Regions from separate parts of the Homo sapiens genome. Here region 1 is linked to region 2. Evidence: promoter capture Hi-C in 16 types of primary human blood cells and fetal thymus (Javierre and others, 2016). All regions are on one chromosome and are shown on one strand. The core of a region is centred on a gene start or on the middle of the fragment in contact, and the rest is flanking DNA. Distances in the headings are between cores, read along the strand shown.

What was found. The method cuts DNA at HindIII sites, captures the fragments that hold promoters and counts their contacts. A CHiCAGO score of 5 or more calls a contact.
Region 1: a fragment that was not itself captured here is called in contact with the fragment with the promoter of IPO13 in region 2 in 1 of 17 cell types (fetal thymus); the score reaches 5.5 in fetal thymus.

Annotation. Positions count from the first base shown.
Region 1 is chr1:43,165,451-43,168,150 of GRCh38, forward strand. EBNA1BP2 (EBNA1 binding protein 2) reads right to left here. Exons shown (of 9, transcript NM_006824.3): 6 at 1,710-1,785; 7 at 1,376-1,469. Among named protein-coding and RNA genes, the nearest start is that of MIR6733, 4.9 kb to the right of the region's middle. The HindIII fragment of the contact is 3,482 bases long and covers 1-2,700 here.
Region 2 is chr1:43,945,667-43,948,366 of GRCh38, forward strand. It overlaps IPO13 (importin 13), which reads left to right and starts at 1,284. Exons shown (of 20, transcript NM_014652.4): 1 at 1,284-2,018. The coding sequence starts at 1,935. It overlaps LOC101929609 (a long non-coding RNA gene), which reads right to left and starts at 933. Exons shown (of 2, transcript NR_188535.1): 1 at 815-933. RefSeq lists a silencer at 1,080-1,329. The HindIII fragment of the contact is 8,694 bases long and covers 1-2,700 here.

The DNA.
Region 1 (2,700 bases), core at 123-2,622, 780 kb before region 2:
TCACTCTTTATACCCAATTCAATTACTGAGTCCTGCTCATTTCACCTCTTAAATGTTTCTTCAATCCTTATCTCGACTTTTGCAATAGTACCCTTGTCAATTTCCCAGCTTCCCTCAAGTCTGTCACTTATACAAAATCCACTGTGATCTTTTTAAAAACATGAATATAACCTGCTCATTACTGTTAGTACAACCTACAACCTAGTCTCTCCACTGCCTTCTGACAAAGCCCAAGCTCCTCAACAAGGCAAACCCACAGCCCAGGTCCCCCCAAACACATTGCACCCCTCCTTGCTTTGCACTGTATTCCCAGTGACACCAAGGGCTTACTGTTCCTCACAAAACCCTGAGGTTTCACATCTCGATGGCTTTGCTCGTTCAAGCTCTTACTTCTTCCCAAACCCAGCTTCTCTTCTATTCTCGTGGTTAATTCCTACTCATGCTTCAAGCAATGCTCAAGTCGAACGCTCCTCCAGAAATCCACCCCAGACCCTGTCAGGTATTTATAAAAGCTGACTCAGTACTAATCCCCAAATGCCTCTATCATAGCACTTACTATCTTACATGGAAATTATCATTTCCCCTAGGCCTGGTATCCAGGTATGCAAAAAAGCAGACTAGAAAAAACAATGAGAGCCCACATTCTCTCTTTCAGTCTTCATACTATGAGGCAGACACTATTTCCTCAACTTAGCAGATGAGGCAATTAGCATTTAGAAAGGCATGGTAACTCGTTCAAAACTGCCCTCCTACTGAGTGGTAGAGTCGGGATCTGAACCCTAGGTCTGAACTCTCAACCATCGCACTGTGTGATGGGGAATCAACTTTACTCAGCATTCACTTAAAGGGTGCCACATACTTAAAAGTACCTTCTTAGGATGGGTGCAGTGGTTCACACCTATAATCCCAGCACTTTGGGAGGCTGAGGTGAGTGAATCACTTGAGGCCAGGAGTTCACAACCAGCCTGGCCAACATGGTGAAACCCTGTCTCTACTACAAATACAAAAATTAGCTGGGTGTGATGGCAGGCACCTGTAGTTCCAGCTACTCAGGAGGCTGAGGCACAGAATTACTTGAGCCCAGGTGGCAGAGGTTGCAGTGAGCCAAGACTGTACCAGTGCACTGTAGCCTGAGTGACAGAATGAGACTGTCCAAAAAAAAAAGAAGTTTAAAAAGTGCCTTCTTTTACTCTTCAAAGACTGACATGGCTAAAAGGGCCCATCACACAGTCATAGGGGTCCTGGCCCCAGGCAGCAGCTGCACTCTCTGGACTCTATGGCTGCGCCGGTGGAGGTGCTATGTCTGCCATACTCGTGACCTGTGGCCCCATCGCACCTCACAGAACCAAAGAAACCATGCCAAAACCCTTCTCACCCCTTCCTCATCTGCTGGCCTTTGGCTCCTGCCTTCTTGCGCTGTGCCAGAGGTTTCTGATCTCCCTCAAGGAAATCCAGTTTATCAGAGAAGCCTGTAAGTGAAGAAGTAGTTTTGATCAGCACCATTGTATTTTAAGAATAAAAGTTTAAACCACCATATGAGGCTGTTATTTGCTACACTGATTTTAAGAGTCACATCCTGCTCTCCAACACCATTCCCAAAACTTTGATCCGACAGGTCCACATCAACCAAGAAGGCTCCAAAGCACTAAGTGTTCAAATCAACTCTAAAGTACCTGCTACCCTCGTTCCCCTATTAGAGATGTACCAACCTTTCTGATATTTCTTAATAGCATTCATCATATGGGCTTTCTCCTGCTGCCTCTTCTGAAGAACCTCCGTTTGCACCTGTGATATGAACACAAGGACCGTTACAGCCATTCCATACCATTACTCCAGTGTCTACATTGTCTTAATAGCAACACCATGATTAATACCACTACCCTCTGACATTTACTACGTGCCAAAAACTGTGTTAGGGACTCTAAGTATATTCTCAGATCTAGGTATATTCTTCATAGATGAAGATATATCTGTCTCATAACAATCCAGTGAAGTTGAAATTTGTGTTATCCCCTAAACTGAAGCACAGGGAAGTTAACTTGCCCAAGTCGCACAGTGAAAAAATGCACAGCCAAGATGACCCAGGCTGTTTGACTCCAAAGCCAGCACTCACCCTATTATACAATCCTGCCTACAAAACTGAAGTAAATCATGTTTAAGACTACATCGATTTTTCGCATCACATTTGGACAGATTAATTATCTAACTCACTGTTACTAGGCATGAAAGTACCAAAAGGAAGAGAAAAAAACAATGTCCCCAGGTAAAGAAAAGAAAAAAGTTTGAAGGATAAAAGGAGACACTTTATAATACTCTAACAGAGGGTTTCTCAATCTTGATACTGCTACAGTGTGGAGAGAATAATTCTTTGCTGGGGGGTAGGGGCCTGTCCTACACTGTAGGATATTTAGCGGCACCCCTGCCCTCTACCTACTAGATGCCAGTAGTACCCTCCCTCCCAAATTTGACAACTAAAAATATCTCCAGGCAGTCACAGAAAACTCTTGGGGAGCAAATTCACCCCCAGTTAACAAACTCTTCCCCAGTGTTTCCTTAAATTAGGAACAGTGAACTAATAGGCCCAAGTGAGTTTGTCTTTGCTTTTGGTAACTTTGGCTATGTTAAATTAATTACTGGTGTCTTTGAGAGAATCTCAGCCATCCACCTCCAGATCAAAGAAATAATAAATCCGCAGCAGGC
Region 2 (2,700 bases), core at 34-2,533:
GCGCCCGGCCTACTTGCTATTCTTTATTGATGAAGACTTGCTGAATGACTTAGAGTCCTACTGGATTTTGCTTACCAGCTAAATGGGCCCCTCTCCTTCCCAGGCTCTCTATTCTTCAAGCTCAGATCAAGTTTCTCTTCTCAGGGAAGCCTTCATGGACCTTCTCAGGCCTCAGCAGCTGCTGCCAATGCCAGCTTCCAATGCCAGCTTCCTCCATTTGAACAAAACTACGGAGCTCTTTGCACTTTTAATTTTTTCCTCTTCCCTGCTAGGGTAGCTGGCAGGAGTTAATAAACAATAAAATACAACTGGAGGGGTGACAGGCAGGAACTACCGGGGCCTGTGGCAGACCAGATCTATGGCATGGTCTGCCACCCTGTCTGTGTGCCAGGGGCAAGATAAGCCTAACTTTCCCCAAGCTCGATTTCCTCATCTCATCTGAAAATGATGAATAAAAATATCCACCTCAGAGCTATTAAGAAAACTGAACCTAAGGTAAGCAAAGTCCTGCTCCTAGCACTTAAATGTAAGCTACTCTTACTCTAGTTACACATAAAGTTACTTCCAAAAACCTTACGAAATTCCCCGAGCACTGTCCATGGTATGTGGTTTCCCGGTTGCTTATTGGGTGGTCCCGAGAGCCTTCCTTTTTTCCTTCCTGAGGCGTGCCAAGTCCCCTCTCCTCTTCTCTGGGTGGTGCTGACGCCTTCTTCCCAGGCTGCACCTTTGCTGGGCCGGAGGATGCCCCCGGCAGCGGAGCGCCAGAGTGACCAGGCAACCTCCCCAGCCTCCACCCTCTAGCCCGGGCTCCCACCTCCGTCCTCCGGCCCCTCGAGTCACGTCGTCCTACTAAGGAGTTGGGCCGCAGCGCCCCGCGCCGGTCTGACCCGGAATGCCTGCTCGCCGCGGTAGGCCGAGGACAGGCGGGGCTCTGCAGGTCCCCAACCCACGTGCTCCCGGCCTCCTCCGCAGGGCGCCGCCTTCCGGCTAGGCGCAACACGGACTACATTTCCCAGGGTGAACAGCGGCGGGGCCTAGACTCGGCCGCGGCCTGGGGCGGCGAGCCGCTCCACCGCCTGCTCAGGGGAGTGCGAGCTGGCGCGAGGACAGGGCTAAGGACCCGGAATGAGTTTCCGCGCAGTTCCGCTGGGCCGTGCCGGCCTGTACCGGGCCGTGCCGAGCCAGAACTGGCAGGAGTGGGGGCCTGAGTTGGAGGTGCCGGGGACAGGCGCTCGGGGCAGCCCGCGCCTTGCCGAGGTCCCTGCCCCGTCCCGGCCGGCCTGGCTTGTCTTGTCAGTCACTGGGGCGGAGGCAGCGGCTGTAGCGGGGCTGTAGCCGGGCGTTGAGCACAGCGCGGGCCAGGCCGAACGGAAGGGACCTGCCACAGCCCCTCAACTCCACGGACTCTTCGCCCTAGACTAGCGGAGCTGCATCTCCGCGCTTCGTTGGACGCCTCCGTAACCACGAAGGGCTCTCTCTCTCCCGTGACCCTCCAGCCCCATGACCTGTTCATAGCAGCCGAGAGCTCACCCAGGCGGGGGTGTTGTGGGTACAGGCCATCGACCCTGTGACCCCTCAAGAGCCAGGGACTCGGTTTCCCCCGCAGGCCTCCCTCCCCTGTGACTCCCTCCACACAGATTCTGGGGACAGAGCTGTTACCTGCCACTAGGATCCCCGCCTGAGAGCTCCTCACTGACGGCTCCCTCCTCGGAGTCCCCTTCATTGGGTCTCCTAAGAGCACCAATTTTGGTCTCTGGCAAGCCTCCCACCCCCAAACGAGGTGGGGAGGCCTCGGCAGCCATGCCCGCCCTGGGCCCCCCCTCACCCCACCACTCCCTGGGCACCCAAGCCGGGGTCTAGCAGGGGGCCAGCAGCCAAGGGGCTGGGGCAGGAGACAGATCAGGGCCCACCTCCCTGCCAGGGAGGGAGCAAAGATGGAGCGGCGGGAGGAGCAGCCGGGGGCTGCAGGGGCTGGAGCAGCACCAGCCTTGGACTTCACTGTGGAGAACGTGGAGAAGGTATGAGGGCTCTGGGGTGGGCACTCCAGTGACAGAGCAGAAGTTCTGGGGACTGTCACTGATGGCAGAGCTCAGGCCTGGGCTGGGTGCCCGCTGGTATGGTGCCCCCAGAGCACCTGGCATTTGCTCTCTTTCTGGGCAGGCAGTATTGCAGTGCCCTAATGGGCTATTTTTGTCTTTCCTTACAGGCAGGTCCCCTGTGGATAGATACTCTAGGGTCTTGGGATGGTCCCTTCAGGGTGCTGTGACTTAGCCTTCCGTCCAGACTGGCTATGTTCCAGCTCCATGGGAACTGCATGAGCAGTGCAGTAGGAAACTGGGAACCCAGGAGACCTGCAGCTCAGTCTCCTGGAATTATACTGATGCCAAACCATCCTGGACCTGGTTTTGTTGAGCCAAGGGCTCAGAAAATAATCTGGAACTAAAACAATCTGGGTTGTTTTGACTCTTTGGAGAAGGGTCCTTCCTTTATTGGATGGAAGCCAGACCAGTCCTGAGCAGGCAGGCCTGGGGCTGTCTCCCTTTGTTTTGTGCTGAGTCCAAGGGTCCTGGCCCTGCTGGGAGCCTTACAGGGCTCCTCCCTACTCGCCTGCCCACATAGCTCCCTGCCATGGCCCTCCCAGGCTCCCCGACTGCCCAGCCCATCTTTCTGAACTGCCTCTTTGGTTCTTTTCTGTATCTG